Linked DNA regions of Homo sapiens: regions 1, 2, 3, 4 and 6 are each linked to region 5. Evidence: promoter capture Hi-C in 16 types of primary human blood cells and fetal thymus (Javierre and others, 2016). All regions are on one chromosome and are shown on one strand. The core of a region is centred on a gene start or on the middle of the fragment in contact, and the rest is flanking DNA. Distances in the headings are between cores, read along the strand shown. Region 1 overlaps IPO13 (importin 13). Region 2 holds the start of ZNF691-DT (ZNF691 divergent transcript). Region 3 holds the start of DPH2 (diphthamide biosynthesis 2). Region 4 holds the start of YBX1 (Y-box binding protein 1). Region 5 holds the start of MED8 (mediator complex subunit 8). Region 6 holds the start of PPIH (peptidylprolyl isomerase H).

Region 1 (3,614 bases), core at 384-2,883, 560 kb after region 5:
GTTCCAGCTCCATGGGAACTGCATGAGCAGTGCAGTAGGAAACTGGGAACCCAGGAGACCTGCAGCTCAGTCTCCTGGAATTATACTGATGCCAAACCATCCTGGACCTGGTTTTGTTGAGCCAAGGGCTCAGAAAATAATCTGGAACTAAAACAATCTGGGTTGTTTTGACTCTTTGGAGAAGGGTCCTTCCTTTATTGGATGGAAGCCAGACCAGTCCTGAGCAGGCAGGCCTGGGGCTGTCTCCCTTTGTTTTGTGCTGAGTCCAAGGGTCCTGGCCCTGCTGGGAGCCTTACAGGGCTCCTCCCTACTCGCCTGCCCACATAGCTCCCTGCCATGGCCCTCCCAGGCTCCCCGACTGCCCAGCCCATCTTTCTGAACTGCCTCTTTGGTTCTTTTCTGTATCTGCTCCCTACAACTTGAAATGCAGGAATGCATGCACCCTGGGATGAATGGGGAGATGGGGCTCCCTTACTTGAAAGCAGGGAATGATGTTCACTTGTTATCCTTAACCCCCGTTTGCCATAACAAACAATGAGGATGCATCTCTTCTGCCTGCTTTGGCGTCCCTGAGGGGCCAAACAAGGGCCAATGGCCATAACTGGCTGTCAGGGGTACAAATAGAGCTAAGCTTACTTGGATGGAGCCTGCTTAGGGGTCAGGGTCCTGGCCATACTCTTCCGCCCCTTGGAGCAGGGCAGTGTTGGCATGGTGGCGCACTGTTCCATGTGCTATTGGGAGATAAATCTCACTGTTTTCTTACTTCATAAAGTCCCGTTGGAATTGAGACCCCGGGGATTCTGCTAGTGGAGAGCACTAAGCTAGGTGTTTGCCAGGGCTGCAGCTATGGCCAAGGCTTCTCTGGATCAATTGGTTGGACATGTGCCCTCTGAGGAGTGTTCTCACCCTCTCCTCCAGCATGTCTGCCCCAGGGCTGCCTGGCAAAAGTCTTAGTCCTGCTCTGATTTCACACTGGCTTTGGTGCCAGCATCTGGACTGACCTAGGGATGATCCTGGGGGAGCTGAAAGGAGCTGTTGGAGTTGATGGGAGCAGCTGTGCCTGGGAGGGTCAAGTCCCCTCAAGCTGTTCCATGCCCTTCTCAGACTTAGCTTCATCCCTGTGAAGCTGTTCCTTCCACCTGGGCCTTGCCCTCAAGTGCCTCCCCTTTGGGGAGATCAGCCTCCTCTTTTTTGCTTTCCTGTGGAGATTCCCTCTCTGAACCCATAATGTTTTGCTGTAAGGAGAAGAGGATATGGTAGAGCATGGGCAAGGTTCAGGCTCTCAAGATATCAGCAGGACCCCAGGCCCAGGAAACACTGCAGAGCGCTGAGCTCTCCCTGCTCAGCCCCCCAGTCAGGGAGAGGGAGCAGCCTTGCAGGACCAAGTCACGCCTCTGTTCTGGGCTCTGGCAGGATCCAGAGTGGCCAGCACCTGCTCAGTCCTGTGCTGTCCTGCAGGCGCTGCACCAGCTCTACTATGATCCCAACATTGAGAATAAGAACCTGGCTCAGAAGTGGCTGATGCAGGCCCAGGTCTCCCCACAGGCCTGGCACTTCAGCTGGCAGCTACTGCAGCCCGACAAGGTACCAGAGATCCAGTACTTTGGGGCCAGTGCTCTTCACATCAAGATCTCTCGCTACTGGAGTGACATCCCCACTGACCAGTATGAAAGCCTAAAGGCACAGCTCTTCACCCAGATCACCCGCTTTGCCAGTGGCTCCAAGATTGTACTGACTCGGCTGTGCGTGGCACTGGCCTCACTGGCTCTCAGCATGATGCCTGACGCTTGGCCATGTGCTGTGGCAGATATGGTACGACTCTTCCAGGCTGAGGACTCACCAGTGGATGGGCAGGGCCGCTGCCTAGCCCTGTTAGAGCTGCTGACAGTGCTGCCTGAGGAGTTCCAGACCAGTCGCCTACCCCAGTACCGCAAAGGCCTGGTGCGGACCAGCCTGGCGGTGGAATGTGGGGCTGTCTTCCCGCTGCTGGAGCAGCTGCTACAGCAGCCCAGCTCACCCAGCTGTGTGCGTCAGAAGGTGCTCAAGTGTTTCTCCAGCTGGGTGCAGCTGGAGGTGCCGCTGCAGGACTGTGAGGCGCTCATTCAGGCTGCCTTTGCTGCTCTGCAGGACTCGGAGCTCTTCGACAGCAGTGTGGAGGCCATTGTGAATGCCATCTCACAGCCTGATGCCCAGAGGTGAGCTAGTACCCACTCACCCAGAAGACAACCTCTTTGGCCAGCCACACATCCATCCATCCATCTGTTCAATAAACATTAATTGAATGTGTACTGATACCTGGTCCTATGCTGGAGATACAGCAAGGAACCAAAGAAGACATGGTCCCTGTCCTCATGGTTCAGACAGGGAGGCAGACATTAAACAACTAATTATCAGTTATTCAATTAAAATATTTGACTCTCTTTTCCTTCTCTCAACTAGTCACCAAGTCCTGGCTGTTCCCCTCCTGACCATATTGCAAATCTATTTTTTTCCATTTCCATTGCTACCACCTTAGTCCAAGCTGTCATCATCTCTCTCCCCAGATTACTGTAGAGCTTGTCCTCACTCTTGTACCCTTCATTGTCCCAGCAGCCACAGTGATCTTTTGAAAATGGGGATCTAATCTTTCTGATCAGAAGCTTTCAGTGGCTTCTCAATGCTCTTAGGTTAAAGCTCAGAATCCTTAATGTGACTCATAATGGTGCTGCACAGTATGGCATCACTGGCCTCATCTCATGCTACTCTCCTTGCTCTCTACACGCTCACACAGTTTCTTTAATTCCTTGAATGTCCCATGTTCCTTTCAGCCTCTGGCTCATTACATATACTTGACACCTTGCCTCAGCTTAAACTTCATTTCCATAGGGAAGTCCTCCATGGATTCTTAAGGCTAAGTTTGATCTTCTCTCTTATATTACCTCAGAGCTCCCAGTATTTTTCCTTCTTAGCCCATAACATGATTTCTCTCACCTCTGTGAGGACAGGGACTCTGTCATTTTACTTTGTCGCATTGTGCTCGGCACATGGTAGCATTTGATATTTTGTGAATGGAGGAAAGTAGGAGTTGCCTGAGTTGGGAGGGGTGGGGCTGGAAGGGATTGGGGGAGGAAGGTGGATTGTTCTAGGCTTTAGGAACCACAGCATGTGCAAAGACTTGTGGGCAGCATCATGATATATTCAAGGGCCCTAAAGAAGTGAGTGTAGTGAAGTGTTTGGCAAATGTTCATTGAGCATGTCCTGTTTTGGGCCCTGTGCTGAGCTCTGGGAGCACAGAGACAAATGCTTTAGCTTCAGTCTCAGGAGCTCACAGTCTAGTGGACACATGAGTGGCAAGTACAATCAACATGATGAATCCTCTGATGGAGAACGCAGGGGCCTTGAAGAACCCAGAGGAGGCTTTCACTGAGTCTGAGGGCTGTGAAAGGATTCGCAGAGGAAGTGACAACCCAGCTGTGTAAGAGTTAGCCAGATGGAAGTGATGGATGGGGAGGACATTCCAGCCCAAGCAAGGGAAGGGTGAAAGCCCAGAGGGTCTGGTGATCTGTAAATCATTAGATGTGATTAGACAGCAAGATTTAAGGGCCAGAGGTATAGGAGACCTGGGCCCAGATCAT
Region 2 (3,510 bases), core at 72-2,571, 540 kb before region 5:
TACTAAAGCCATAGTTTTATTCCTGAGTCTGCTCTCTAGTATTTTATTTTATCAATTTATAAACAAATAGTGTTCATAAGGCACACATATTTCACTCAACCATATTCAGTTCCAAACATGCATTCCTGAATATCCCAATCTTAAAACTAACTCACATTGTCAGCTTGTGGAGGCAGAATACATGCATACATATACACATACATACATGAATATACATATAATATACACACACATATGCATACATACACATATACACATGTATACATGTATGTGTATATACATATCTGTACTACATAGGTGTATATATATGTATATGTATTTAGCATGTATGCACGTGTATATGTATACACATATATACATATGTATGTATAATACATATTCACACATGTATGCATGTATATACACATGTATACATTAGTATATGTATATACACATGTATGTGTATTATACATGTATATATGTACATACATATCAGTCTACTGATTTGAATATTAATGTCATCAAGAAATAACCTCAATATATGTATGTATTATAACCTTACAACTATATAAAACATACATACATATATATGTATATATGTATACACATACACATGCATGAGAATATATGTATGTATATATAATATCCTCACAGTAATTCTGCCAGGGATTTTATGGGGGAGGGAGTTGGTACTCCAAATGGCTAGGTGGTAGAGCCAGAGTTTTATACTTGGTTTATCTAGCTCTGAAGGCAATGCTCCTTGTTCTTTGCACTGAAACATTGTGCAGATACGAGAAGCCTGTAGTTTACGTATTTCATTAGCCTTTTATTATTTTAAAAAATAAAACCTGAAAAAAAAGACCTAGTCCTGGATACTTTGGTGATCTTGTTGTGTCTGGATTGACGAACACGTGTCAGGCTTAATTAGGGATGCACGCGGAACCCGGGAAAATCCCTGCTCAGGGGGGCTGGAAGACCTGGAGGTTGATCCTTGAACAGGGTACTTTTAGCTTCTCCGATAAGGAGATTGGGTTATTTTATCTTTAAACTCCCTTCCAGCTCTACCCTCCTTTGATTTTAAGTTATAAACCTTGAGTGAGGTGCCAGACTCTAGGCTTCGTTGGACGTCTACAGGACGGTCAAGGATTACCAACTCAAAGTAAAGAAGGAAATTTGAGTACTTGCCCCCTTGGAGGTTGTGTAGGTTGGCTATACAGATTCTACAACTTCCCAGACGAGTGGCCCTGAGACTTGGGGCTGAACGCGCGAGCACGGAAAGAAATCCCACCGTAGGACGGAACCCAGTCTCTTCAGCTCCATCCTAAACTTCGCAAGTTTTCTCTGAGTCTACGCGCTTCCTTAGGACTACAACTCCCAGCATGCCACGCCAGCGGTCAAAGCTTATTGGTGGTCCTGCCAGGTCGCTTGCGTTGTGGCAGTCATGGTAGCCAATGGAAATAAAGAATTATCCCAAGAAACCAATCCTGGAGTAGTAGGGCGGATCCTTCCTGGGTTCCGGCTCCGGCTCCAGCTCCTTCCCTCGCCTACAGAGGCGGCGCTGTCCCTGATCGAGCGGCGGGAGCGAGGTGGGTCCGGGTTGGGCCCGAGGTCGCGGGGGGAGGCGGACACGACTTCGCGGGAAACTCTGTACACGGCCACTTCCCTCTCACCGAGGATCTGGATGCTGCTGCTTTGCTCCCTGGACCGAGTGGGAAGCCAAGGGGCCTTGTGGTCCCTCCGCCGCGACCCTCGCCCTGGCCCCCGGCCCACGCAGCCAGGTGGCTGTCCCCAACCCATTCCCCGGCCCTTCTGTTGGGTTTGAGTATACAGCCTTCCTGCCGCTGACCATACGTTTAGGATCAGCCCCTCCTCCTCTCCCACCTCTCTGGCCCCAAGCCCGCCGGCAATCTCTGAAACCAGCTCTTGTACCCTTGGACCTCCGCCATTGGCTTCTCCCCGCCCCGCAACACACAACTCAGCTCTTGGGCCCTGGCCTGTGACACTTCTGGCAGCCTTTGCTTCCTCTTCCCTGACCGTCTCCTGCGACCCTCTGACTTCCTTGGTCCTCCTGTATCTCTGACCCGTTATCTAGCTTCCCTGTACAATTACCCTGTTAGCACCTTGCTCTTGGTCTTTCATAGCTCCTCTCTCCTCTTCCTCCCTGCAGCCCTTGACTTGGCCCCAAAGACCTGTAACTTCGGACCTCCATACCGCACTATGGCTTGGCCCCTTGCCTTTAACCTAGGCGCTTCACCTTCATCATCTGTGATCACTAGCCCCATCTTCTTGGCTCTTAACTTCTTAGACCTGGCCCCTCCTCCACTTCTCAGCCCCTTCCACCGTTGCTTCTCTCTGTGCAGCTGAGCCACCAGGAAGACAAAGCCCAATAGACCCCTTTTCCCCCCAGATCTCTGCAGTGTGATATGAAAGTGCCTCTGTACTTCAGCTGCACTGTCTTCTCAGTAGGTAGTTGCCTCTTTATCTCTGCAAGTCCCAGTCTTACCCATCCTGCAAACCTTAGGTCAAATACCTACTCCTCCTTGAAACTTCTCAGCCCTGATTTCATCAGGGAGATACATCTGTATCATGTGAACTTCAGTGGTACTGTTTTTATTTCCTTCCTTCCCGTCTTCTCTCCTTTTTTCCTTCAGTAATAGTATAATGGTTAAAAGCACTGACTTTGAAGTGATGGGCATAGGCCCCAGTTCTGCCACTTACTTGCTGTGTGCCCTTGGGCAAGATACTTAATTTCTCTGAGCCTCAGCTTTCTCATCTCTAAAATAAGGATGATGTGAAGTGAAATTAGATGATTCATATATGGTCCTTAGTCCACAGCTTAGCACTTGATTCGAGCTTTAAAAAAATGTTAATAATGTGCCAGGTGCTGTGTTAGACACTGAGGAGTGGGTACAAAGGTGACTAAGGCACAGTTCCTGCCCCTGTCCCCTGAACTTAACCTTCTGCATTGTATGACAATTTCTGGAGTTCACGGTCTGTTTCAGTACACTGTATCACAAACTGAGTGGTAATCATAATCCTAAATCCTTTTGCTCTTACATTGACCTAGCATCCAGCCCCGGGTAGAGCTGGAACTTGGTAAATTATAGGTTCTCAGAATAGCAGTTTCGGAAGTGAGTGGAGGCTGAATAGCTCATTGCGTAGAGATACTGTAGCTGTAGGTCAGATGGGAGCAGGGCAGGGGGTGGGGGATGGGATGGTGGCGTGAATTAAGATCACATCCTGTCACTTATACATTCAAAAGACATTTGAGCACCCAGCTTTATGCTGCAGAAGGAGATTACTAATATGACCCAGTCCCTTTCCTCAAGTTGCTTATAAACTACTAATAGAAACAGACATGTTCTACTAGTAGTTGCAAACCACTATAAGCCAAGCACAAGATTCTGTGACTGCATAAAGGAGAAAGTAGGCAGGAATCAGGAGATTGCTGAGGAAAAGTGGGTGAGACAGTTCATGGTTACTTGTGTCCCATGAAGACAGAGCTGGTGTTTTATTCAACTCATTCAACAA
Region 3 (3,593 bases), core at 446-2,945, 580 kb after region 5:
GAACTTGCATATGGTTGAGGAGGGCTATAGAAAGGGGCTGAGTGTGTGTGTATTGGGGGGTGGGTGGGTGGCAGGGAGGTGAAGGAGAGAAGATATCTCAGCCGCAGAGGAGAAAAGAGGAAAGTAGGACCTAAGGTTGTCCATATGTCCGCTGCTCCCCGCTTACACAGGACCTCCAGCACAGGATGGTCAGGGATCAATCAGCACCAGGGACAGCTCCTGACCTATTCTTGCTTTTCTCCCTTAGCAGTGTTGCCTCCCTTTCTGTCTCCTCAGCTATAGTTTCACCTAGGCTGCCTCTCAGGTACCCCAGGCTTCTCCTCAGTAAGATCTGAAGAGCAGAATGAGTTCTCCCCACTTTTACCCTTGAGCTTTCAATCTCCTTGTGGGTGATGGGGAACTCGTTACTCCCACATTCATCCCACTCCTTCCCTGTTCAATAGATCCGGGTTTGATGCTGGTTGTGCCACAGAATTAGTGTCTTATTACACAAGTAGTCTCTTTGAACCTCAGTTTCCGTATCTGACAGAGGTATGTAAGGAGGGCATTTCAAGTGATGTTGCATGTGGGGGTGTTTGCATATAAGTAAACATGGGGAGTAGAGGGGATGTGAGGGGCTGGAGGGTAGAGGTCTATGTGGTATGCACTGGGGGTATTGCTGGGAAGCAGCAGTGTTTGAGGATGGCTGGAGCTGTGCAGAGCATCTCCTGTGACTTGAGGATGTGCCAGTCATGTCCTTGGTACCACTCGGGATAATTCTTACTCCAAAGACTGTAAACACTAAAAATGAAGTGCCTAATGTACAGTAAGTGCTCAGTATTTGGCTGATTAAATAGCAAATGCTTTCACTGCATGCGATATCCAAAGAACTACTTTGTAAAGTTTTGTATATAAATTAATTAGACCCTCACAACAATCTTATTAAGAGGTACTATTGTCACAACTCCCCATTCTTCAGATAAGGAAATGGGCATAGGGACATTCCTAAGATACTCAGTAGCAAGTGACCAAGCACAATATTCAAACCCGAGCCGGTCGGCACCAAGTTTAAAATTATGCAGTGTAGCCGGGCACGGTGGCTCACGTCTGTACTCTCAGCATTTTGGGAGGCCGAGATGAGTGGATTGCTTGAGTTCAGGAGTTTGTGACCAGTCTGAGCAACATGGCAAAAACCTGTCTCTACAAAAAATACAAAAATTAGCTGGATGTGGTGGTGCGCCTGTAGCCCCAACTACTCAAGAGGCAGAGGTGGGAGGATGGCTTCAGTCCAGGAGGTGAAGGTTGTGGAGATCGCGCCACTGCACTCCAGTCCAAGCAACATAGCGAGACCTTGTCAAAAAAAAAAAAAAATGAATGAATGAAAGAATTATGCAGTGATACTGCCCAGAGGATAGAGTGCACGTGAAATGCTTAACAGTGAAGTCGGTGTTCCTGATGGCCGCGGGTCGGCTGAACCGGACTCCCAGCGCCCGAGAGGAGGCCAGGGGAACTACAATGCCCACAAGGCTCCGCGCCTTCCTCGATGTACTTCCGGCTGGCCTGGGACTCAGGCTGAACATTGGTTCTCTGTGCGGGGCGGTGGCGGGGATTGGAGGGCGGGAGCTGTGCTGACTTAGGATTGGCAAAATCGCTATCAGCCACGCCTCTAAAACCCGGAAGTAACCTCCCCGGTAGTCCCACGTGTAGCGGAGAAACAGTAGTTAGGATGGCTGAAGGGGATACTCACCGGCTGAAGGCCGACTGTGATTCCCCCTACCCCCACAAGGCGATTTTGACCCCCTGAGGGCTGCTCTAGAGGACTCAGGCCCCGAAGCTGTCCCAGGGAGGTCCCCGCTGCATCCCACCACCCAAGCTGTGCCTCATGGAGTCGATGTTTAGCAGCCCTGCCGAGGCGGCGCTGCAGCGAGAGACCGGGGTGCCAGGACTGCTTACTCCTCTTCCGGACCTGGACGGAGTGTACGAGCTGGAGCGAGTCGCTGGATTTGTCCGCGACCTGGGGTGTGAACGAGTGAGGACAGACTTAGGGAAGGGTGGCTCGCCTCTGTCGGGATGGGTCGCCCAGAGGATCCGGATCTTGGGGGATTTTGTGAGGGCGAGAGGGTGGGGGAATCAGTCTGTCCGCAGCGCGTTGACCATCCCTCCCTTCCACCTACTACGTGGGGCAGAGTGCCCCTCTGGGACCAGGGGCTTTGAAGGTTGAGTGGGAGCTCCTGGAAGATTGCTTTAAAGAAGCCCTCAGTGGGAGAGAGGCTGTCCCTGACTCCATGGTTTATGCTTATAGGTTGCCTTGCAGTTCCCTGACCAGCTATTGGGAGATGCTGTGGCTGTGGCTGCACGACTGGAGGAGACGACAGGGTCAAAGATGTTCATTCTGGGTGACACAGCCTACGGCAGGTGTGAACTTGGCCTTAGGTGGGCCAGGCCTGGGGATCCGGGGCTCATGGGGTTTTACGTCTATGACAGTGATTGCCTTCAATGGTGGTGTTTCTCCTTGATGATAATGGTAATGACTCCCCTTCTGATGCTAGCTCCTTTCATTGACAATGTCTTCCTTTAATGAAACCATTTTATTCACTGACCACATTTCCCAGTGATGACAGCAACTCGCCTCCAGAAGAGAACCCATTTCTCTGATGCTATCTTCCCTGCAGCTGCTGCGTGGATGTGCTGGGTGCTGAGCAAGCTGGAGCTCAGGCTCTCATACATTTTGGCCCTGCCTGCTTAAGCCCTCCAGCCCGCCCACTGCCCGTTGCCTTCGTGCTTCGTCAACGTTCTGTGGCCTTGGAGCTCTGTGTCAAGGCCTTTGAGGCCCAGAACCCAGACCCCAAAGCGCCTGTGGTGCTGCTGAGTGAGCCGGCCTGTGCCCATGCCCTGGGTAAGGGGTTTTGCCTGTGTATGCACAAAGGGTGAGCCAACTGCTTTATGCCTTAATTTCCCCATTTCCATATACCATCCATAGAACTCTTGATATGGGCTTGGCCCCAGCCTACTGGGTCATATTTAGTCTCCTGGGGATGAGGGAGCTCCTGCTTTGCCAGGCTCCAACCTCAACACTACCTCCTTCTCTTCCAGAGGCTTTGGCTACTCTCCTGCGCCCACGGTACCTGGACCTGCTAGTCTCCAGCCCAGCTTTTCCCCAACCAGTGGGTTCCCTGAGTCCAGAGCCTATGCCCCTAGAGCGTTTTGGGCGCCGCTTCCCCCTTGCCCCAGGGAGGCGTCTAGAAGAGTATGGTGCCTTCTATGTAGGGGGCTCTAAGGCCAGCCCTGACCCAGACCTTGACCCAGACCTGAGTCGGCTGCTCTTGGGGTGGGCACCAGGTCAACCCTTCTCCTCCTGCTGTCCAGATACAGGGAAGACTCAGGATGAGGGTGCCCGGGCTGGACGGCTAAGGGCACGAAGACGATATCTGGTAGAGAGGGCCAGAGATGCCCGCGTGGTAGGGCTGCTGGCAGGCACACTGGGTGTAGCCCAACACCGTGAGGCACTGGCCCACTTGCGGAACCTGACTCAGGCTGCTGGCAAGCGTAGCTATGTGTTGGCCCTGGGGCGGCCCACCCCTGCCAAGCTTGCCAACTTCCCTGAGGTGGATGTC
Region 4 (4,047 bases), core at 655-3,154, 710 kb before region 5:
ATCTGGACTACCCTAAGGGTAATAGTAGTCACTGGAAGATTTTAAGTAAGACAGTGTCATGATCAGATAGATGTTCTCAAAAGAACTTTCTGGCTGTTGTGGTGGGTAATATTAGAGTAAGAAAGAGGTAGAGAGGTGTGGTTAGTAGCCAACAGCACTGCTCTATGCTAGGGGTCAGCCGACTACACTCCGTTTTTCTGTGGCTCATGAGCTAAGAATACAAATGGTTTTTAAAATGTTTAAATAGTTGAAAATATGTAAAGATTCGTGTCATGTAAAAATTAAGGCTGTTTTCAAGCTCCAAACCTGAGTAGTAAGTCAGAACCATATGGTCGGCCAAGCTTATATTATTAACTATTTGGCTCTCACAGAAAAAGGTTCCTACCCCTTGCTCTAAGCAATTGGTGATGATGGCCTACAGTAGTGACAGTAGGAATGAAAAGACTCTGAATTGACATTTAGAGGGTTTAGGACTGACTCAAGAACGCCTTTAGGAGGTGGAACTCACAGGCCTAGACGGCATTGGTAGGGGTAAGGAATACTGCATTAGCCTCCTAACTGCTTTCTCTACTTCCATTCCTTGCCCCTCTGCAACCCATTCTCCACTCCGCAGCCATTTTTAAAAAGATGCCCCTCCCTACTTATGACTCTAAAATTGCTCTTCTCACTCTTCCCCTCAGGATATATTTCCAATTAAATATACCTAAGTGACTGCCCACCTCTGCAACCCAATGTCACATTCGAGTCTTACTGAACTACTTGACTGCATTTCCCGAGATCTCACCTCTTCTCGCCTGTACCCTGTGCGCGGAAAGTCAGCCCTCCACCTTCTCCCTGCTTCCACTCCCAAAATACTTCGTGGTTTTGCAGCTCTGGAGTATTTACCGTGTTGGCTGTTTAAATTTCTGCCTCCATCAGAAGGCAGAAACTGACTCGCGAACTATTCCATCCCCAGCCGATAGTAGACGCTTAAAAAAGAACGAAAGAAGGTGGGTGGAGGACTTCAGTAACATCAGGTGGCAGCCTCAATTTTATCGTTTGTGAAACGTGGATAGTAATCCCTCTATCACGTGGCTGTTGCAGGAATAAAGTGAAAAAACAAAACAGGCTAGCTTGTTCAATAAATGTGAGTTGAATTAAATCTGATTTGTGGTCAGTAGAAAAAGATGTGAATACTTGGAAAGGAAGACACATTTTTTTAAATATATGCCTGGTAAAACGGATCAGAAGGCAGGTCCCCATGGAGCACACCCTCGCCCTAAACATGCTGAACCCGGGCTGCCATAGCCTGCGTGGTCCCTCCAAGGTGACTGCTCCGACAAAAGGGTACGCTCTTCAAACGCATACGTTTAAGGCAATTCCAGAAACCCTCGGCTGTGCCGCGACTACACGGCCATTAAAGAAAAGACGACTCTATGCCCGCCGTAATGTTCTCAGATCACAGGGACCGTATTTGGAGCTGGGAGGGAGGGAAGCCTTTTCTTCACGGGGGGCTAAGGCGTCTTCGAGCCCCCTTCCAATCCCGGGTCCGGCCGGGTAATCCCTGCCCAGCGTTCGGGCGTGCCTTTTTTTCAGCCGAGACACAACCCTGAACGTGGGGCCCGCCAGCCCGGCGGCTGCCTCGTGGAAGTCACGTTCCTTCTGCCCGTCCTCTCGGGTACTCTATGGTTTTCGTGGCCGACTACTCTAATTCTAGTTCCGGTCTCTATGGCGGCCGGCGGAGGCAGGAACGGTTGTAGGTCGACTGAATTAGCCGCCAAAGGTCCAATGAGAATGGAGGACTGATAAAATATTAGCCAATAGAAGCTAGGGATTGGGGTCAGGTGGGCAGATTGACAGTACCACTGGCCAGTGAACAACGCCTAGGGCGGGTCGCTCGTAGGGCTTATCCCGCCTGTCCCGCCATTCTCGCTAGTTCGATCGGTAGCGGGAGCGGAGAGCGGACCCCAGAGAGCCCTGAGCAGCCCCACCGCCGCCGCCGGCCTAGTTACCATCACACCCCGGGAGGAGCCGCAGCTGCCGCAGCCGGCCCCAGTCACCATCACCGCAACCATGAGCAGCGAGGCCGAGACCCAGCAGCCGCCCGCCGCCCCCCCCGCCGCCCCCGCCCTCAGCGCCGCCGACACCAAGCCCGGCACTACGGGCAGCGGCGCAGGGAGCGGTGGCCCGGGCGGCCTCACATCGGCGGCGCCTGCCGGCGGGGACAAGAAGGTCATCGGTGAGGACCGGACAGGGACGGGGGTGGGGCCCTCGGGCAGCCCAGCAGCGGAACCGTTAGCCGGAGCTGGGCGAGCCGGCGGGCGCGCGGCCGGTGGGCACCGACTCCGCGGCGCGCGGCCGCCCATCCCCCCCGTCCCCCCCTCACTCCCTCTCGCGGGGACCCGCCCGGCAGGCGCGCGCGCACTGCCTCCCGCGCCCCCTGTGGACCCCGCGCGGCCGCGCGCCCCTCCCCCTGCGGCCGCGCGCCGCCGACCGCGTGTGCGACGGGGTCCCCTCCCCGCCGACCGGCCTCGTGCGCTCGGGCCCGCACGCCGTTGTTCGCGTCACCCCCACCCAGCTCCCTTCCGCGTGTGCTCGGAGGGCGCGGCGCACCGCCTACGCAGGCCGGAGCGGCTTCCCCTTCCCTCACGTGCTCTCCGTCCGCGGCCTGCGCACACACCCATCCTGGGGCCCGCGCCCCGGGCCTGCCCTGGAGCGCCCCGCGCTTCAGACTCACCCACGTGTGCGGCGGCGGCGGCGACTGCGTGGCCCCGCACCCGGGCGGTGGAGAGAAAGGGCTGTCAGGTGGCCGCGGCGGCCGGCGTGCGAGGGACCGGATGCCCAAGCCGGGCGGATTTGGAAAAGGATAGCTGGTAATCGTGGCTTGTTTTGCTTTGTTTTCTTTTCCAGCAACGAAGGTTTTGGGAACAGTAAAATGGTTCAATGTAAGGAACGGATATGGTTTCATCAACAGGTGAGCTGCCGGGCTCTGAAGCCTCCATCCCACCTTCTTGCTTGCTTCCTGCTCTGTCGGCTTCTCGGGGCTTGGGAAGCCCCAATCCACAGCTCTGTTCTGAAAGGCGTTTACTACCTCTGGTGTATTAGTATGATTTTTTGTTGTTGTTGTTTTCCTTGATTAGGGATTAGTGGATCTAGAGAATGCCTTTGTTTTGCAGCTAAATATTAATTTGAAGCTAACTTAAAAGGCTTCGTCACAGTACAAAGCAATTCAAAAGGCAAGCGGAGTGAATGAGCCATTCCTTAACAGGGTAAACGGGAAACTACGGTCCAGTACATTTTTATCCTTGTCATCTTTTTCTACTTTATTGAACTCGGTATTTGAGAATGTGATCCACTGACATCGGATATTTATACATTGTTAACGTTTTAGGGTAAGAGGATTTGACTATATGAGGTTTTGTCATCTTTACCGAGAGGTTGTATTGCCTTTGTTTCACGTTTCATTTTAATACCTGAGATAAATTTTGTCTTAGCACAGCTTTGACCAGAGAGAACTGTTTTTATTTGCTCATCCAGTAAATAATATATTTACAAGAAAGTGGTTTTTTTTCCTTCTTCCGTTCTTATTTTTCATTCTTCCTTGTCCTAGAATCATAACTGGTTAAGTCGATTTCTGTTAGATCCCTGGCTGTAGCTTATTAGAGTGGCCATAGTCACTGGTAACTTGACATTTTTCTTCCTGTTTGAAGGCAAAGCTGCAGACACGTCTTTAGGACTTACCCTTCGGGTTGTTTGTAGGAGTGGTGGTGGTAACGTGCAGTAGACGCACTGTATTCCATGGGCTCCCTTGTAAGCCGGGCATCATTTTCAAGATGGCTGCCAAGGCTAGTAGTGCTAGTTACATGGGTGCAGAGCACTGGGTATGCCAGTAGCAATCTTGGCCTCACAGGTATGGTACTTAGTGCCATCTCAGCATTGTCTTGCTTGCTTACTGTAGAAGACCTAAGCAGATGATTAAAAGAACAATGTGGAATGGACAACAAATGGGCAAAATCAAGCTTAAGGACAGAATCATTGCCTGATGAAAAACTGTTCATTAATCAATCA
Region 5 (3,679 bases), core at 58-2,557:
GAAAGCCAAGGAGATGGTGTGCAACACCAGTCAGGTAACACAGGATCTCATTGGCATAGGATAGCCAGGTTGTTTTCTATCTTTGGTATTTGGGTTATAGACAGCATCAACCCTGAGACCTTCCAACCTGTTTGCCTGACCCCAAGTCCTTCCACCAACTGATTCCTTTTCCCCATCACCTCCTAATCTATGCCTGGTTTTTCTCTGTGTTAGGTACACCCTACACTCCCTCACTGAGACATTTTCGACAGACCTAATGCCAGGAGATCATTCTCTCATGTGCACCTCTGTAGCACATGCACTCCAGCTTCCTCCATCCTAGCATCTGTGAGCCTGGCTGTCTTGTCAGTCTCTGGGAAATCTGCCTACTCATGAAGACTTCTCTGAACACCAGTCCTGCTCTCCCCTTTCCCTCCCCCAACCAACGACTCCAGCTTTCCATCTGCTCTCATCATTTTGTTTCAACCTTCTCCTTGCTGAATTAATATGCAATCATCTATCTCTGTGTCAATATTCCCGTGCCTCTTTCACAAGCTCAGTCAACCCATTAACATTTATTGAGACTACCAGCTGCAAGAAACTAAGTGACAAATGAAAAACAAAAACCACACATGCTTCTAAGCACTGGACAAACAAATTAAAATGCTGGGGGTCTGCAAAGCATTTCCTTCCCATCGGTGGTCTCCTGTTTTACTCCATTTCTTCACCCTTAACAACTATAGGGCACAGGCTGGGAAGAGGGATGCAAAACTGTCTTGCAAACCTGCCTGACAGAAACTTGATCCCGGGTTCCACCATGGCCTCTGATTATAAGCTGCTTAGCTTTCAGCCATCGCGGCCCACAATTCCCTCACTGCTTGGGCTTCTTTCCAATTAGATCCCCTGCTATATCGGCAACCAACAGCCTCCATCCAGCAGCTTAGGACAGGGCCTGAGCCAACCCACCACCTTCTTGAGCCGTCTTCCTTGGACTGCATCTCAGCCTCCCCGTATTACAACCTAATCCTTTCCCACGCCAAGCAAACAGGTGCTGCCTCCTCCCTCCGGATTTAGCCCGACTGTCTCCTGTCAGGCAAGCTCCACCCCCACCTCTAATCGCCGCCGCTCCCGCTCCAATTAGCCTCGCCCCCCAGCCCACATTCCCTTATCAGCCGTGGGTTCTGCCCTCTCTTCTCAGTCCCAACTCTTCATTCTCCTTAGCCAGCCCACTCTCGGTCCCTGTACCCGAAGCTTGCCAGCCGCTAGTACGCCCAACGCAACTCTCACCTGCATTGCGGCGGCCGAGGCGGCTGCCACGATTTCACTTCCGGTTTTCCAGTCAGCAAACGCCTACGAGAAGGCTTCGTCCACCAATCAGAAAACTGGAACTCGGCCCTCCCACCAACTTCCGGTTCCTGCTGGGTGCCGAGGTAGCGAGGTCAGGGGTCAAGAGTGGAACACCCTCACTGGCCCGGGCCGGCGCGGGAGGGCTGTGTGATGGCCTCGGAGCGCCCGGAGCCGGAGGTGAGGGGCGGGCGGGCGCAGCACTGGGCCCCGAGATCCGAGGGGGAGGGTCCGGCGGGCAGGCGTGGCGTTGGCCTCCTCTAGGTCTGGGGGTGGCCGGGCTGCGTAGCCTCGGCAGGGACCAGCCCAGCCCGGAAGGCCCGACTATGGTACCCCTGCGGACTGTGTATGGGACGCGGTCCGCAGTTTCCTCGGGGAGCTAAAGGAGTAACTGTTCGCTTTGTTTTGTTTACTGACATGTCACCCGCGTCGTCGTCTCTAAGACTTATAGCGGTGTTAACAAAACTTGTATTTTGACTTTCTGTTGCAGTTTCAATGGGCAACACGGCAGTAGATTTACTTTGCTGGTTTTTGCATTTCTTTAGGCATTGGAATACCATAAACAGCATGAATTTATTTAGTTCTAGGGCTCATGCTTTTAGAAAAGCAGCTTTAATTTCATGAAAAAAACATTTGAGTCGGACTGAGACCTCGTTCCAATATTGGCGCTGTCATGTAGCTAATCTGTGCAACCTCAGGCGAGTCTTCCCGGATCCTGTTTCCTTCTTTATAAAATATCTGTCTTATAGTGTGTTGTGAGAATCACATGTAATAAACCAGAAAGGTGATATGATATATTCGTTAAATGCTAAGGAACATGCAAGGAACCTTATATATGTTGTGTCATTCAGACTTGTGCAAGGAAGGTGGCATTCTCACAGAGGAGAAAACTGAAAAATGAGAAAGATTTAGTACCTTACTCAAATGCCACTCATCCAGGAACTAGCAGTTTGGAGTTAGAAGATCTGAGCTTAAAATCTCAGATTCGGATAAAACACCACCACCAGGAAAGGTGCCAACATATCAGTAGGTGGGAAGGGTGAGAGATGTGTATAATGATAGAAATAGTATTCATTACTGCATACATACTGCATGCTCAGTACCATTCTAAGCTCTTTACCAATATCAGTTAATCCTCAGCCCTATGAAGTGGACACTGTATCATCTCCTTTTTTTAGTTTAGGAACTGAGGCACAGAGATATTAAGAGTAACAAAGTAAGCCGGGCGCAGTGGCTTACACCTGTAATCCCAACACTGGGAGGCCGAGGTGGGCAGATCACCTGAGGTGAGGAGTTCGAGACCAGCCTGACCAACATGGAGAAAGCCTGTCTGTACTGAAAATGCAAAATTAGCCAAGCATGGTGGCGCAGGCCTGTAATCTCAGCTACTCGGGAGGCTGAGGCAGGAGAATCGCTTGAACCCGGGAGGTGGAGGTTGCGATGAGCTGAGATCATGCCATTGCACTTCAGCCTGGGCAACAAGAGTGAAACTCCGTCTCAAAAAAAAAAAAAAGTAACAAAGTTACACAGCTATTAAGTATTAGAGTCAGGACTCCAAAACAGATGGCCAGGCTCCAGTCCTTGTGTTCTTAACCATATTGTTCATGGTATAAGTAATAAAGTAGCCACAGAATGGTAAATCTCCAGTTCACTGGGATTTGGTGTGGTAAGACCCAACATTGAATATGGTGGTAGGAAACTATGCCTTATTTAAAATAGTCATGTTCACAGAGGTGGTAGAATAGCTCATGCATCAGAAATATCAATCAAGATCAATCAGAAATATTAACACAAGAAAAACTATGAAACAGTTTAGAGGATGTTTCATTATAGATTAAAGTGAAAGGAGGTGGAGGGATGTTGTGGGGAAATGCAACATACCTTTTAGGCAGATAGTCTAGGACAACACCGTCCTGTAGAAATCTAAAGCAAGCCACATGTGTAATATTAAATTTTCTGATAGCCACATAAAAAAATGAAACAAGGCCGGGCGCGGTGGCTCACGCCTGTAATCCCAGCACTTTGGGAGGCCGAGGCGGGCGGATCACGAGGTCAGGAGATCGAGACCATCCTGGCTAAAACGGTGAAACCCTGTCTCTACTAAAAAAAATACAAAAAATTAGCTGGGCGTGGTGGCGGGCGCCTGTAGTCCCAGCTACTCGGGAGGCTGAGGCAGGAGAATGGCGTGAACCCGGGAGGCGGAGCTTGCAGTGAGCTGAGATTGTGCCACTGCAGTCCAGCCTGGGCGACAGAGCGAGACTCCGTCTCAAAAAAAAAAAAAAAAAAAAAAAAAAAAAAAAAAAAAAAAAAAATGAAACAAATGAAATAAAATGTAATTATATATTTAACCCAAAAC
Region 6 (3,880 bases), core at 1,209-3,708, 730 kb before region 5:
CATGCTTAAGTGATCCTCTCTCCTCAGCCTCTCCCAAGTACAGGCATGTGCTACCATGCCTGGCTCATTTTTGTACTTTTTGTAAAGACGAGGTCTCACTCTCACTCTATTGTTCAAGCTGGTCTCAAATTTCTGGGCTCAAGTGATCCTCCCACCTAAGCCTCCTAGGTGATAGGATTATAGGATGAGCCTCTATGCCAGGCCTGGTTTTACTTTGTTACTATTTAAGATTATGCTGTGTTGAAGGTCTTTGTGCATGTAGTTCTTTTCTTCTTTTGAATTACTCCAGAAAACAAATTCGCAAGATTGGACTGAGTCAAAGGATATAAATGTTAATATTGCTCTAGGACATCACTTCCTTTGCTTTAAAAAAGGGTTCTGCCTGACCAGGTGCGGTGGCTCACGCCTATAATCCCAGCATTTTGGGAGGCCGAGGCAGGTGGATCACTTGAGGCCAGGAGTTCAAGACCAGCCAGGCCAACATGGCAAAGCCCTGTCTCTACTAAAAATACAAAAATTAGCCGGGTATGGTGGTGCACACCTGTAGTCCCTGCTATGCGGGAGGCTGAGGCTCGAGAATCACCTGAACCCAAGAGGTAGAAGTTTCAGTGAGCTGAGACCACTCCACTGTACTCCAGCCTGGGCAAAAAGTGAGACTCTGTCTCAAAAAATAATAATAATAAATACATAAATAATAAAATAAATAAAAAGTGTGTCAACATACTGTTTTCATAGTCAAGTTACTCAACCTCCTTGAGCCTCAATTTCTTGATTCCTAAAATGGGAACAATAATAGTTCTCTATCCCATAGGGTTGTGAGGACCAAATGAAATGAAGCATGTAAAGTATTTAGCACGTAGTAACTGCTTAATAAATGCTATCATCATTTATTTTCACTAGAGGTTTATCAATGTACTATTTTTTTCACAACCTCATCAACATTGGATATTATCAATTTTAAAGATTTATTCTAAAACAGTTGGTATAAAATTATACTGAAGCGTGACTGCTGCTGTTCCTTTTCCCCCTCCTCCCCTTTCTTCTTTTTCAGTTGGAGGAGACCAAGAGGAGAGGATCAGTAACCAGAAATAAAAATGACCCTTTACATTGAGACACACTGTATTTTTATATGTAATCCTTGCTTTCTCAGACAACAGAGCTAGAAAGATGATCATAGGAACTAGGAAATAATAACTATTTTATTAAATGCATGCTGTTATATTGAATGAGCCTTGCCCAAGGTCCCCTTCTTTCACTAAATTCATTGCATCTATTATTTATTGAATACCTACTATATGCTATTCAGTAGGCGACATTGCAGCTACAGCTGCGAATAGGACCAGGAGAGTCTCTACTTTCATGGAGTTTATATGCTATCAGGGAGGAAGATTATGTGTGTGTGGCAGGAAATGAGGTGTAGACACATACCATACGAAGATAATGTGGAAGTGGGGGTGGCATGAAGAAAACAAACCAGTGATCTGAATGACCAAGGGCTACTTTAGATTAGGTCTAATGTTGCCTCTCAGGAGGTAACATCTGGGGTGAGCCCTGAACTACAAGGAGCATTACTTCCCACACGCATACCCCAACCAACCCCCACAATCCCCCGCCAACCCACATTAAGTTCTGGAAGGAATATTTCAGACAGAAGTAACAGCTATTACAAAGCCCTAAAGAGAGGAGGGATCTCAGTGACCTGGAGGAACAGACAGGTCAGAGCACAGTAACTAAGGGCAAGTGGTACAAGATGAGGTCAGGTACGTGATAGCCAGATAAATGCACTGTAGGGCTTCGTATGCACGGAATTGGATTTTATTCTAAATATGGGAAGCCAGGAGTTATTTTTAAAATAAATAGGAAGCACAAGAGTTATTTTAAAAATAAAAAATAAAAAACTCTAGTTGCTTTATGGGAAATGAATTGGAAATGACAAAACTGGTAGCTTTTGTGGCAGAACAAACATTATCTATTGTCCTGACTTAGAGGAAGGGATATTTACTTAGCAAGCCTGTACGTGCCAAGCTGTTCTAAACGCTGAGGATGAACAAACCAGAGTTCCTGCCTTCACGGTGTTCACACTAGCGGGCAGAAGACAGACAGCACGTGTGGCGGTGCAGAGGGCTTGGCTGCAAGAGCCGATAAGGAGGACCCTGGCGACTGCCTAGTCCAAAAGTCCTAGCTAGAGCAAGATCAACTTGTACTGCCCTTAGTACAGCCACGTGAGTGGGGTGACCATTGACCTTAACCAAAAAGATGTCAAGGCTTTCCTCCTCCTCACTCCCGCGTCCCCAGTGCCAGGCAGAGTCTCTCAGCTAGACCCTAGCAGTCTCAGCACACACCGCACGGGGCGACAGCTTCCGGGGGCGGAGCCTGGTCTCGCTCCACGTCTACCGCGCCTGCTCCCCGGACGAAATCCGCGGACCGGGCTTTAGGTTCGCCGGAATCCCACGCTCCCGACTTCTGCTTCCGGGTCGGAGCCATGGCGGTGGCAAATTCAAGTCCTGTTAACCCCGTGGTGTTCTTTGATGTCAGTATTGGCGGTCAGGTGAGATCCAGGAGGCTGCCCACACCTGCGCCGAAGGGAAACTGCTCGGGGCTAGGCAGGCAGAACTCACCCAGAGAGAGCGGACTCGGGAAGCCAGCCAGAAAGTGAAATTGCACCCGAACCTACCGACCTGCCGGGCGGGGGGAAAGGAGGAGGAGGAGTCTCCCCAATCCTAGCGCCCCGCTTCTGGAGGAACTGGGCGGTTAGACTAGGGAGGCGGAGGTGGGAGATACCGAGCGGCAGGGTGGTGGGTCAGCCCATCATGCCCCCTGCTCCGTGAAGCCCTCATGGTCTTGGACTGGGCCTTCTGACACTCTCCCGCTGATTGCAGGAAGTTGGCCGCATGAAGATCGAGCTCTTTGCAGACGTTGTGCCTAAGACGGCCGAGAACTTTAGGTAAGGACGTGCTCCAGCTCCGCTGGATTAGCTGAGGCAGAAGTCGGGCTCCAGTCAGCCGCCTGAAATAGCCTGTCTACCTCTGTCCGTCCGCTCACTGCTCTTGAGACCTGATTCCTCCATGCATTGCTCTGTCTGGTTGCCGTTTGGATTGTTCCCGTGTTAATTTACGTTGTTAGTCTGTGTGACTGCGTGTCTGGACGTCTGGCTGGCCGATTGGTGGACTTGCTGGCTCCAGTGTTTATTCTTTCCCGTATTTAGAGGCGCTCACGACTGTGACATCATAGTGATTGAATCATTCATTTTTTGTCCCTTTCAGGCAGTTCTGCACCGGAGAATTCAGGTCAGTTTCAGATGTGTTTGACTTCTTTGCCTGCTCCAGAGGGGTGTTCTGGGGCTGCAGTGAGGGTATCGGTGAACCACCTGCTGGCCTTGAATGATTGCTGGTGACAGTGATAGAAGGTAATGCCCCAAGGGTCTGTCCCTAGTTTATTTGCCTTCTTTATGTCTGTCAACCATCTTTAGGAGAGTCCTTTTGGCTCCAGTGCATGGTAAACTGGAAAGGCCTTGTGCTACCTGCTGTCACTCCAAGTCTCTTTCTTTTCGGTTATAGGAAAGATGGGGTTCCAATAGGATACAAAGGAAGCACCTTCCACAGGTAAGGCTCTTGGCAAGCCATCCTGGAGTCTTTCAGAAATATTTCCTGGGGGATTAGGCTCTTTAGAGGAAAATAAAACCAGAGGGTAATTCTTACATTTCTTGAGAAGAAATGTTTTTGTGGACTCAACAACTGAAGATTTATTAAATGTTCTAACTCTACTTACACTCCCCCACTTCTTAGGTCTTTAAAACAGAAACTACTCATCTTTACAATATCTTGTCTTTTTCATGCACTTGTTTGTGCGAATGCAGATTTTTTAAAAAGTACACTTGTAA

Evidence for each region. Contacts are between HindIII fragments. The CHiCAGO score rates a contact against its expected background, and 5 or more counts as called.
Region 1: a fragment that was not itself captured here is called in contact with the fragment with the promoter of MED8 in region 5 in 1 of 17 cell types (fetal thymus); the score reaches 5.3 in fetal thymus.
Region 2: a contact is called between the fragment with the promoter of ZNF691-DT here and the fragment with the promoter of MED8 in region 5, in 12 of 17 cell types (fetal thymus, total B cells, total CD8 T cells and 9 more). The highest score is 12.2, in fetal thymus.
Region 3: the fragment with the promoter of DPH2 here is called in contact with the fragment with the promoter of MED8 in region 5 in 2 of 17 cell types (neutrophils and erythroblasts); the score reaches 5.2 in neutrophils.
Region 4: the fragment with the promoter of YBX1 here is called in contact with the fragment with the promoter of MED8 in region 5 in 10 of 17 cell types (fetal thymus, naive CD8 T cells, monocytes and 7 more); the score reaches 12.1 in fetal thymus.
Region 6: a contact is called between the fragment with the promoter of PPIH here and the fragment with the promoter of MED8 in region 5, in 5 of 17 cell types (neutrophils, non-activated CD4 T cells, fetal thymus and 2 more). The highest score is 8.1, in neutrophils.

Annotation. Positions count from the first base shown.
Region 1 is chr1:43,947,959-43,951,572 of GRCh38, forward strand. IPO13 (importin 13) reads left to right here. Exons shown (of 20, transcript NM_014652.4): 2 at 1,459-2,195. Among named protein-coding and RNA genes, the nearest start is that of IPO13, 2.8 kb to the left of the region's middle. The HindIII fragment of the contact is 2,008 bases long and covers 630-2,637 here.
Region 2 is chr1:42,845,093-42,848,602 of GRCh38, forward strand. It overlaps ZNF691-DT (ZNF691 divergent transcript), which reads right to left and starts at 1,322. Exons shown (of 5, transcript NR_186083.1): 1 at 1,165-1,322. ZNF691 (zinc finger protein 691) reads left to right here and starts at 1,521. Exons shown (of 4, transcript NM_001242739.2): 1 at 1,521-1,565. RefSeq lists enhancers at 1,058-1,327, 1,488-1,557. The HindIII fragment of the contact is 2,341 bases long and covers 1-1,377 here.
Region 3 is chr1:43,968,315-43,971,907 of GRCh38, forward strand. It overlaps DPH2 (diphthamide biosynthesis 2), which reads left to right and starts at 1,696. Exons shown (of 6, transcript NM_001384.5): 1 at 1,696-2,008; 2 at 2,282-2,394; 3 at 2,652-2,875; 4 at 3,073-3,593. The coding sequence starts at 1,862. RefSeq lists enhancers at 1,727-2,006, 2,492-3,038, 3,039-3,583, 3,369-3,593. The HindIII fragment of the contact is 12,483 bases long and covers 1-3,564 here.
Region 4 is chr1:42,680,514-42,684,560 of GRCh38, forward strand. It overlaps YBX1 (Y-box binding protein 1), which reads left to right and starts at 1,905. Exons shown (of 8, transcript NM_004559.5): 1 at 1,905-2,218; 2 at 2,890-2,953. The coding sequence starts at 2,053. It also overlaps a transcript of PPIH not described here. RefSeq lists an enhancer at 1,561-1,610 and silencers at 2,051-2,250, 2,441-2,550, 2,661-2,810. The HindIII fragment of the contact is 3,657 bases long and covers 340-3,996 here.
Region 5 is chr1:43,388,493-43,392,171 of GRCh38, forward strand. It overlaps MED8 (mediator complex subunit 8), which reads right to left and starts at 1,308. Exons shown (of 7, transcript NM_201542.5): 1 at 1,267-1,308. The coding sequence starts at 1,272. It overlaps SZT2 (SZT2 subunit of KICSTOR complex), which reads left to right and starts at 1,407. Exons shown (of 72, transcript NM_001365999.1): 1 at 1,407-1,503. The coding sequence starts at 1,477. RefSeq lists a silencer at 1,398-1,727. The HindIII fragment of the contact is 2,691 bases long and covers 1,229-3,679 here.
Region 6 is chr1:42,655,965-42,659,844 of GRCh38, forward strand. It overlaps PPIH (peptidylprolyl isomerase H), which reads left to right and starts at 2,459. Exons shown (of 10, transcript NM_006347.4): 1 at 2,459-2,548; 2 at 2,880-2,944; 3 at 3,264-3,287; 4 at 3,558-3,602. The coding sequence starts at 2,483. It overlaps CCDC30 (coiled-coil domain containing 30), which reads left to right. Exons shown (of 21, transcript NM_001395517.1): 21 at 1-1,226. All of the region lies in intron 1 of LOC124904162 (a long non-coding RNA gene), which reads right to left. The HindIII fragment of the contact is 5,565 bases long and covers 1-3,880 here.